Regions from separate parts of the Homo sapiens genome. Here region 2 is linked to region 1. Evidence: promoter capture Hi-C in 16 types of primary human blood cells and fetal thymus (Javierre and others, 2016). All regions are on one chromosome and are shown on one strand. Each heading gives the region's core, a stretch centred on a gene start or on the middle of the fragment in contact. The rest is flanking DNA. Distances are from core to core; before and after follow the strand shown.

Evidence for each region. The method cuts DNA at HindIII sites, captures the fragments that hold promoters and counts their contacts. A CHiCAGO score of 5 or more calls a contact.
Region 2: a fragment that was not itself captured here is called in contact with the fragment with the promoter of SIM2 in region 1 in 1 of 17 cell types (naive CD4 T cells); the score reaches 5.6 in naive CD4 T cells.

Annotation. Positions count from the first base shown.
Region 1 is chr21:36,696,269-36,701,599 of GRCh38, forward strand. It overlaps SIM2 (SIM bHLH transcription factor 2), which reads left to right and starts at 2,847. Exons shown (of 11, transcript NM_005069.6): 1 at 2,847-3,653. The coding sequence starts at 3,479. It overlaps LOC105369308 (a long non-coding RNA gene), which reads right to left and starts at 2,723. Exons shown (of 3, transcript NR_188246.1): 1 at 2,641-2,723. It overlaps LOC107985492 (a long non-coding RNA gene), which reads left to right and starts at 4,248. Exons shown (of 4, transcript XR_001755029.1): 1 at 4,248-5,331. RefSeq lists enhancers at 1-238, 4,074-4,667, 4,668-5,260. The HindIII fragment of the contact is 14,642 bases long and covers 1-5,331 here.
Region 2 is chr21:36,582,921-36,588,069 of GRCh38, forward strand. No RefSeq gene overlaps it. Among named protein-coding and RNA genes, the nearest start is that of CLDN14, 110 kb to the left of the region's middle. The HindIII fragment of the contact is 957 bases long and covers 1,765-2,721 here.

The DNA of each region.
Region 1 (5,331 bases), core at 1,597-4,096:
CAGTGGGTGAACCGCCATTTAGAACGGTGCCTCGGACTCGGGGGTCGTGCGCTCCATCTCTGCCTCCCCCCTGGGGCCCGCGAGGCTGGTCCGGGCTTTCTGAGCTGGGCGTTCGGCTTTAGGCCCAATACCTGGACCAGGAATTTCTTCTCCCCGCGCCAGAAGGGAAAGACATAGGAGGTGTCCCAATCTGCGGTCACCGCCGATGCTCCTGACCACTCTAGTGAGCACCTGCCCGGTACTTTTCCATTCCAACAGAGCTTCCAGCTTCATACTAACTATCCCACATACGGCCTGTGGGTATTAGCTCTAAGTGTCCTTTTCCGAGGGCCCGAGGCTCCCCCTCCAGCAGGGAGAGCTCCGGGACGGCCCCCACCAAGGGTTGGGTTTCTTCCTTCACAATTCCACAGAGGCATCCCTGTCCTTCCTACCTGGGAAACCTCGAGGTGCGGTGCCCGTGTACTTCTGGTACTTTGCGTGGTGCCATCAGGGACCCCAGAGCCACAGCTGCGTGTGTGTGTGGATGTGTGTGTGTGTGTGCGCGCGCGCGCGTGTACGGCGAAAGGATGTGCTTGGGGGAGCCGAGTACACAACGTCTGCTTGGGCAGCTGCTGGGCAGGCGTTGGGCCTGGAGGTATCTCACACCCACGTATCTTCCAGTCTTCAAACACGGCATTGCTCTGCCTCCCGTAGCGCGCTTCGAACCTGCCTCGCGGACACGTGAACAGAGGCTGTCCCTGGGAAGATAAGTGCGCTTTCCCGTAAAATCCGGGAAATTTGCCTTGAGGAAAGTTTCCGTTCTTGTTACTTGTCGGGTTTCTCCCACTTCCACTTAGCCATGTTTCTGCGATCTGGGTAATCCCTTTCAAGCCCAGGAGGAATTCTCCCGGGTCCATAATTGAGGGTCGGAAGCCGTGGGGGTGAGAAACGCATTAAATCCTCCCGAAGCCCAGGAGGTGCCAGAGCGGGCTCAGGGGGCCGCCTGCGGAAGCTGCGGCAGGGGCTGGGTCCGTAGCCTCTAACCCCTTGGAGCTCCTTCTCCCAGAGGCCCGGAGCCGGCAGCTGTCAGCGCAGCCAGGAGCGGGATCCTGGGCGCGGAGGTGGGTCCGACTCGCCAGGCTTGGGCATTGGAGACCCGCGCCGCTAGCCCATGGCCCTCTGCTCAAGCCGCTGCAACAGGAAAGCGCTCCTGGATCCGAAACCCCAAAGGAAAGCGCTGTTACTCTGTGCGTCCGGCTCGCGTGGCGTCGCGGTTTCGGAGCACCAAGCCTGCGAGCCCTGGCCACGATGTGGACTCCGCAAGGGGCTAGGGACAGGCAGGGGGAGAGCCCGGGTTTGCGCACACCTTCCAGCCCCTGGAGGGAGCCTGCTCGGCTTCGAACGCCTTCGAACTTTTGACCTTCAAAGGAGTCCCTGGAAAAGGTCAGGAGCGCCTGCTGCAGGCACGGTTGCCGAAGGCCAGGCCTTCCTGGCGCAGGGGAGGGCCAGGGGAGGGAAGCGGATACTCAGTCGCTGTCCGACGGCGAGTTTTCGGAGCAGCAGGCTCATGATCCCGGGCCAGTGGCGAGAGCAGTGACACCGAGAACCCAAATCTCCGCGCCCCCATCCGCGGCCCGGTGTCCTCCCGGCCCCTGCTGACCTCCAGGTCACGCACCCCACTGCTCCACGGCTCTGCAGCCTGTGGCACACGGCCGAGAGTCCCCACATGATCTCGACGCCAAGGTAAGGAATTGCCCTGCGTCCTCTGAGCCTGTCTCTGGCCTGGGGGGCCGGGAAAGCTGCACTCCTGGAAGAGGTGGGGTTATGTGACCGCCGCTGCAGGGGTGCGCGGAGGACTCCTGGGCCGCACACCCATTTCCAGGCTGCGGGAGCCGGACAGGGGAGGGCAGAGGGGGGACAAAAGGACTCTTTAGGTCCAAAATGACCCTGAAGGAGAGTCCAGAATGCCCAGTGGCCGCGTCTGCAACGGAGTCTTCTTTCTCCAATTGCCTTCTGCCCCATCACCATGGGCCCCACCTGCGCCACCTGCGCCCACCCTGTGACCCTGGCTCAGCGACCTTGGCCCTTAATCGCCCAACGCCGATTCCTCAAAATTCCGGCTGCGCTGAATCGGGCTGCTTTTGCCGCCGCCCCGGCAGTTGGGCCCTGTTTCCGCCGGCGCCCTGGGAGAGGCCTCACCACTCGGCTGGGCTCCCTGGCCCCTCCCTTCCCCTGGCCTGAGCGCCCCTGCGGCCTCCCGCTCCTCCTGAGAAGGCGACAATCTCTTTGCACCTTAGTGTTTCGAGGACAGAAAGGGCAGAAGGGTCACTTCGGAGCCACTCGCGCCGTTTTCACGTGTGTGTGTAATGGGGGGAGGGGGGCTCCCGGCTTTCCCCTTTTCAGCTCTTGGACCTGCAACACCGGGAGGGCGAGGACGCGGGACCAGCGCACCCTCGGAAGGCTCGATCCTCCCCGGCAGGGCGCCTGGCCAACGAGTCGCGCCGCCTCCTCTCGGCCGCGCCTGCTGGTGACCTTCCCGAGAGCCACAGGGGCGGCCTCGGCACCCCTCCTTCCCTCGCCCTCCCTGCCGCCCATCCTAGCTCCGGGGTCCGGCGACCGGCGCTCAGGAGCGGGTCCCCGCGGCGCGCCGTGTGCACTCACCGCGACTTCCCCGAACCCGGGAGCGCGCGGGTCTCTCCCGGGAGAGTCCCTGGAGGCAGCGACGCGGAGGCGCGCCTGTGACTCCAGGGCCGCGGCGGGGTCGGAGGCAAGATTCGCCGCCCCCGCCCCCGCCGCGGTCCCTCCCCCCTCCCGCTCCCCCCTCCGGGACCCAGGCGGCCAGTGCTCCGCCCGAAGGCGGGTCTGCCATAAACAAACGCGGCTCGGCCGCACGTGGACAGCGGAGGTGCTGCGCCTAGCCACACATCGCGGGCTCCGGCGCTGCGTCTCCAGGCACAGGGAGCCGCCAGGAAGGGCAGGAGAGCGCGCCCGGGCCAGGGCCCGGCCCCAGCCGCCTGCGACTCGCTCCCCTCCGCTGGGCTCCCGCTCCATGGCTCCGCGGCCACCGCCGCCCCTGTCGCCCTCCGGTCCGGAGGGGCCTTGCCGCAGCCGGTTCGAGCACTCGACGAAGGAGTAAGCAGCGCCTCCGCCTCCGCGCCGGCCGCCCCCACCCCCCAGGAAGGCCGAGGCAGGAGAGGCAGGAGGGAGGAAACAGGAGCGAGCAGGAACGGGGCTCCGGTTGCTGCAGGACGGTCCAGCCCGGAGGAGGCTGCGCTCCGGGCAGCGGCGGGCGGCGCCGCCGGGTTGCTCGGAGCTCAGGCCCGGCGGCTGCGGGGAGGCGTCTCGGAACCCCGGGAGGCCCCCCGCACCTGCCCGCGGCCCACTCCGCGGACTCACCTGGCTCCCGGCTCCCCCTTCCCCATCCCCGCCGCCGCAGCCCGAGCGGGGCTCCGCGGGCCTGGAGCACGGCCGGGTCTAATATGCCCGGAGCCGAGGCGCGATGAAGGAGAAGTCCAAGAATGCGGCCAAGACCAGGAGGGAGAAGGAAAATGGCGAGTTTTACGAGCTTGCCAAGCTGCTCCCGCTGCCGTCGGCCATCACTTCGCAGCTGGACAAAGCGTCCATCATCCGCCTCACCACGAGCTACCTGAAGATGCGCGCCGTCTTCCCCGAAGGTGAGGCCTCAGGTGGGCGGCCGGGGACGCTGGGGAGCCCGGCGGCCCCGGCCCAGGCGGGAAGCGCAAGCCAGCCCGCCCAGAGGGGTTGCCGCGGCCTGGCGTCCAGAGCTGGGGCGTCTGAGGGAGGTTGCGTGAGGGTCTTCGGCTTCGGCGCTGGCTTGGGGCGAGGGGCCAGGGCCTTGGCGGCCCAGGCGACCAAACCCTCTCCTGGTCCAGGGCTGGGTGAGGGCGAATTACGAATTGTTCCAGGGGCAGGCAGTCCCCCAGCCCGCACGGCCAGCGAGTTCTTTCTGGTTTTGTTCTTTCTCCCTTTCCTCCTTCCTTCCTTCGCCAGTGCATTCTGGTTTGGTTTGGATTTTTTTCTCTCTTTCTTTCCTTTCTTTCTTTCTTTCTCTTTCTTTTTCTTTCTTTCTTCCTCTTTCTTTCATTCTCCCCTTCCTTCCTTCCTTGGCCCCCTCTCTCCCTCCCTCCTTCCTTCCTTCCTTTGCCAATGCATTGGTTTGTTTTCTTTCCTTTTCTGCTTTCCTTCCTTTCTTTGGAAGTTCACTCTGGTTTTGCTTTCTTTCTTTCCCCATCCCTTCCTTTCTTTATCCCTCCTTCCCTTCCTCCTTTTCTTTCTACGATTCCCTTTATTTTTCCTTCATTCCTCCCTCTTTTTGTCTCTTCTGGAGGAGGTGAAGGAGGGTCAGCTTCAGGCGCTGCGAGTCAGCGGGGATCACGGTGAGGCCCAAGCACTGCAGGCTGAGGCCACAGAGCGAACACTTGTGCTGAGCCGGGCCCTCTCGTGAGGCTGGGGTGCGGGAAGTCCGGGCAGGAGAGACCCGCCCCCGCCGTTGCTGAGCTGAGACCCGGCTGAAAGAGAGGGGTCCGATTAATTCGAAAATGGCAGACAGAGCTGAGCGCTGCCGTTCTTTTCAGGATTGAAAATGTGCCAGTGGGCCAGGGGCGCTGGGACCCGCGGTGCGGAAGACTCGGAACAGGAAGAAATAGTGGCGCGCTGGGTGGGCTGCCCCGCCGCCCACGCCGGTTGCCGCTGGTGACAGTGGCTGCCCGGCCAGGCACCTCCGAGCAGCAGGTCTGAGCGTTTTTGGCGTCCCAAGCGTTCCGGGCCGCGTCTTCCAGAGCCTCTGCTCCCAGCGGGGTCGCTGCGGCCTGGCCCGAAGGATTTGACTCTTTGCTGGGAGGCGCGCTGCTCAGGGTTCTGGTGGGTCCTCTGGGCCCAGGAGCTGGGAGGGCTGCGCCGGCCTCTGGAGCCCCGGGAGCCAGTGCCGAGGTAGGGAGACAACTTCCGCCGCAGGGCGCCGGACGGTCGGGGCAGAGCAGGCGACAGGTGTCCCTAGGCCGCAGGGCGCTTCCATAGCGCCATCCCCACCAGGCACTCTACTCGAAATCGGAAAGCTCGACCTTTTGCGTTCGCCTCTGCCAAGCCTGTTATTTGTGCTGGCCGCTGGGTCTGGAGCTGCGCTTCTCGGCCCCTCCCCGGTGGAGCGCAGAGGGCTGGTCTGCAAGCGCGGCCTCCAGCCCCGCGGCTCCCCGGCCCAGGAGCCAGGCGCGGGCTGACCCGGGAGCACCCGGCAGCGGAGGGGGCTGGAAGCGGACCCTAGGCCTCTCCTGTGCCACCCGGCCCTACCGCGCGGCCGCGGGGCGCTCTCCTCTCGGGCGCAGCGGTCCTTCA
Region 2 (5,149 bases), core at 993-3,492, 110 kb before region 1:
TGATGGGCTGGGAGGGCTGCAAGTGTCCAGGAGGCTCAGAGCCTCAGTAGAGATGGAACCATAAGATATCCCACCTCTGCCATCACCCACACAATCCAGCAACATCCCCAGTGCCACCTGGATTTTGCCCATTCCTCCATCATCTCTCCTCCCAAAGAAAATCTCCCTCTTCCTTCCTCAAGGGGTCCACATGGGTGGCCAACTGCTGGACCATTCTGAAGTCTCTAGGAAATAAGCCTTTCCTGCCTCTTCCAGCTCCTGGTGTTTGTTGGGAATCCTTGCTGTTCCTTGGCTCATGGCAACATAATTCTAATCTCTGCCTTCATCATCACACGGTATCCTCCATGTCTGTGTCTCCATGTCCAAATTTTCCTCTTGTTATAAGGATACAGTCATACTGGATTTAGGGCCCCCTCTAACCCAGTATGACATTATCTTAACCTGACTACATCCATAAAGAAATACCCTATTTCCAAATGAAGTCACATTCTGAGGTCCCAGGTGGGCATGAATTTTGAGGTGGGGGGGATGCAATTCACACAAGCGTCATCACTTAAGGGTAATGAAGGCCAGAACTTTTGACTTTCTTGGTATAACCAACTTTAATTACAATATCCTGAGTTTTTTCCCCCCAAAGTCACTCTGAAATGACCATCTACCCTTTTCCATTCCATAAACTTAGTCTAATACAGACAGAGCTCAGCTTTCAAATAGAGGAGTTTTCCTGAGCTGCTGCAGGTAAGGGCGCCTGTTTGCAGTGTCTGTTGGCCAGGCCAGGTTGGGGGTGCCCATGGGAAGAAGGAAACCCACAGGATCCCATCCAGGGGAGGGAGCTCATTAGCATAACCCCTGGCTTGCTCTGCCCATCATGCACGTCTAGCATCCTGATTGGTAGGTTTGAAAGGAGACCTGGGTCATGGGCAGTAAGAGGTCCTGCATCTCGATTTACTCTCAGGAGTGACTGGCACTTCCAGGGCTGGGCTCCTCCAAGGATGGGCTCATCCCTGTGGGGTGGAGTAGGGGTCTGTCCAGTTCCGCCACACCCACCCCACCCACCCCCCACGCCCACCCCACCCACCCCCCACGCCCACCCCACCCACCCCCCACGCCAAAATTGGACTTCTGTATTAGGGAGCTTATTTGCCCAAAGATATAAGCCACATTCTCCAACCTAGACTGTCAGTTATAAACGTAGTCTTTGGGCTGGAATAAAGGCAGTCTTTGGGCCAGGCACAGTGGTTCACATCTGTAATCCCAGCACTTTGGGAGGCCAAGGCGGATGGATCTCCTGAGGTCAGGAGTTCAAGACCAGCCTGGCCAACATGGTGAAATCCCGTTTCTACTAAAAATACAAAAATTAGCCAGGTATGGTGGTGGGCACTTGTAATCCCAGCTACTCAGGAGGCTGAGGCAGGAGAATTGCTTGAATTCGGGAGGCGGAGGTTGCAGTGAGCCAGGATCACACCACTGCACTCCAGCCTGGGCGACAGAGCCAGACTCCATCTCAAAAACAACAACAACAACAAAAACGGTCTTTGCGACTCCATTGGCCTCATGCCTTTTTTCACCTTTCATTTGGTTCAGAATTTGGGCAGGAAGAGTGTGCCATTTACCAGACACCCCCAATACCTTGGCAACACACAGGGCTCACTTTGAACACCAATTAACTTCTCAACAGTTCACACACAATCCATGCATGGGAGCCTTATTCCCTTAATACGCCAAAAAATATACCTGAAGCTAAAAATATACCAACCCAAGGCAAGCTTGAACTTTCCATAAAAGGCCATTAAGAGAATTGATTTCATCTCCGGGATTATTGCCCTGTGACAGCTGGTATGCATTCCAAATACAGCAACAAAAGAGAAGGCCACGCTGTAGAAAGGAGTTTAAGTGGAAACCTTCCATACACCAAAATCTCAAAGGAGAGGAAGTTGCTTGCCACCCCCTTGGTTACAGTTCATAGTCATAAAGGCTGTTTCTATAGAATAGACTTCCACGATTATCTATTTGCAAAAATGTACAAACACAGCCAGCATACTCTGTGCCTGTAGAAAGACCTGGATCAATACAAGTAACAGAAGAATGAAGAAAAGAGGAAAAAAAGATTTTATCAAGGCTGTTTACTTTAAGGGTACCTTAAAGACCTGCACAAACACACCTGCTACTTCAGTGCCAGGAAGAACAGAGCAAACATGGCTCTCCTTTAAAAGAAACTGGAGAAAGAGACTTTGCAGCCACAAAACCAGTCACACCAGGAGGCGCTAGCATCTCAGCAAGTGAAAGCATAGAAGCCTCATCTTCAGATCAAAGTTATTTAAAAGGAGCCCAGGATCACACTTCTGAATTAAGCCTACATCACATCGGGGACAGTAACATGTTGAGGAATGTTTAACCACAAACTGGATCACCAGAAGGGAAAAATCTCCTGATTCCTAGCATCTGCCCATTTCTGTGGTGTAAATACTCCCACAGTAGCTGATTTCAAGCTGCCAGCATTGGCAGAGATGTGAAACACCACACCATTGTATAGTATTTCCACCCTCCAGATACAATAGGTGCAAACAACTTCTAGAGCATAGGTACCAGTAAAATGTACTAACACAATCAGGAAGTAAAAAATGCTAAAACAATTAGGAAGTTGAATGTATTAAAACAACTAGGAAGTGATGAGTTTTGAGTATTTATTACTTTTGTGGTAATATAATTTATTTAATTGTAAGCTTATGATTTTAAATTTTTAAATAGTGACTCTTTTAGCTACCAGCTCACAAAATTCCGGCAAATTTTACAATTGGCTCAAGCTGGGGCAAGTCTCCTTCAACCTACCATGGTCTGGGGAGCGTTTTCAAAGTAACAAAGATCTTCCTTTCCCTACCTCAATTGCGGGAGGCCCATTGGGACAAAATGCCCCAGAGGCGACCACATGTGCATATTTTCTTTTCCTTCCTTCCTTCCTTCCTTCCTTCCTTCCTTCCTTCCTTCCTTCCTTCCTTCCTCCCTCCCTCTCTCTTTCTCTCTCTTTCTTTTTCTTTTTTTTCTCGCAGTTTCGCTCTTGTTGCCCAGGCTGGAGTGCAGTGGTGTGATCTTGGCTCACTGCAACCTCCACCTCCTGGGTTCAATCGTTTCTCCTGCCTTAGCCTCTCGAGTAGCTGGGATGACAGGTGCGCCACCATGTCCCGCTAATTTTTTGTATTTTTAGTAGAGACAGGGTTTCACCATGTTGGCCAGGCTGGTCTCGAACTCCTGATCTCAGGTGATCCACCTGCCTCGGCTTCCCAAAGTGCTGGGATTACAGGCGTGAGCCACCATGCCTGGCCATCATGCATATTTTCAAAAGCTCTCCAGTGCAATTCTAATGGACTCCCTGGGTGAGAACCACTGCTGTGTCCCACCCTTCCATGTTACAGAAAGGGAAGCTGAAGTTCAAAAGTTTAAATGTTCTCTCTGTTGGTTAACAGATGACCGAGCTGGAGAATGACTATTAGTTGGGTTCTTTCTCTTCCCCTAGACCTTCCCCCCAACAATTATGTGCAACTTTGGATCTCTTCTGGAAATACTGCACCTTATAAGCACCTTATTTGAAATATTGCAACTATATTAGCAGTATAGGCCATATACCAAAGCCTCATTACTTTAAAAGGAAAAAAAAAAGAGAGATGGGGGGGCAGTCCTACTGTGTTGCTCAGGCTGGTCTTGAACTCCTGGCCTCCGGCGATCCTCCTGCCTCAGCCTCCCGAATAACTGGGACATAGGTGCATTGCATTCAGCTTACTTTTGCATTACCTTAACAATAACCAAAATAAAGTTTACCATAATATCATTTATTTTTAAAAAGGGTTTAACAAGGAAATTCATAGGTAAGCCAAACTAGAAAGGAGACATCAACGTCCTCAAGAAACTTTAGAGACCAGCTTTCTCTCTGTTTGTATATAAACCATGTATATATTAATAACAAACCATTCTGATCTATATACTAAGAGAGGGTCAACTGAACTGGCAATGTTTAGTTAGTGGTTATTTTAACTTATTCTTAATTAAAAATAAAGTTATTCTAGCCAGTTGCAGTGGCATGTTCCTGTAGTCCCAGCTACTCAGGAGGCTGAGGCAGGAGGATTGCTTAAGCCCAGGATTTTGAGTCCAGCCTGGATAACATAGTGAGAGCTTGTTTCCATTTTTCAGAAAAGTTGTTCTAGGTAGCAAGATTATGGTGATTTACTCTTCCATATTTCTTCTAAATCTTCTTCAACAAGCTTAATGCTGTAGTCCTGTCCCATATATTTTTAATGCTTTTATAATCAGAAAAATTGACTTTTTTTTTAACCCAAGTCAATTGCATCTCTTTCCGCACCCAGACTTTTCATGAATTTGGTTTGGCTTCTCTTTTAAATTTTCCCAAGACAGCAAGGAAAAGTGATCCAGCTAAGCTTTCCTTTTAGGACTTTTTACTGACTCTCCCCAGCGATTTGAAGATAACCTCCTCCTGAGCTCTCCACCCCACTCTGAAGCTGCGAGGTCCCCACCGAACAGAACACGGTCTCCTGAGTGTCCCACCCTGCTCTTAGCGGGAGAACTCAGCTTTCGGCTCCCATAGGCATGGAAACAGTTACCAAACACTGGTTCCTAGGCCAGTGTCTCTCCTACTGCTAGTTGAAAGAATATTCCATGACTCATTGTGGACTCATCTCCCAAAGATATTAAATCTGAGTTTCAGTGAAAGCCAGTCCAGGTAAGCCCTGTACAAATAAGAACACGCCTGAGCTAAAACCAGGCTGGTGGATTCCAGCATCTTCTCTGGGCTCTTCCTGTGTCTCAGAGCGTGAGCTTGGGCTTCTACTCCGTGCCTGGGGGACCCATGCCCCCTGCCACCCCATGGCTGGAAGAGTACCCCTGTCTGGGAGAAATCAGCTATAAACGCAGAAGACAAGAGCCCTGAGGGAGGCAACCTTTCACCAGGTCCAGGGGCTTCTCCATTGGTCCTCACGGTCGGGCTCATTATCACAGCATCTTCTGATGATGTCTTTGCCTTGCTCCCATCCCTGTGGGTGGTGAAGGGCCGGGAAGGCAAGTGTGCAGGACTGTGGGTGCTGGGCTTATCTGGAGGCATCTGCTGAGGGGAGGCCAGCACATGTTTCTTAAGAACAAGGGC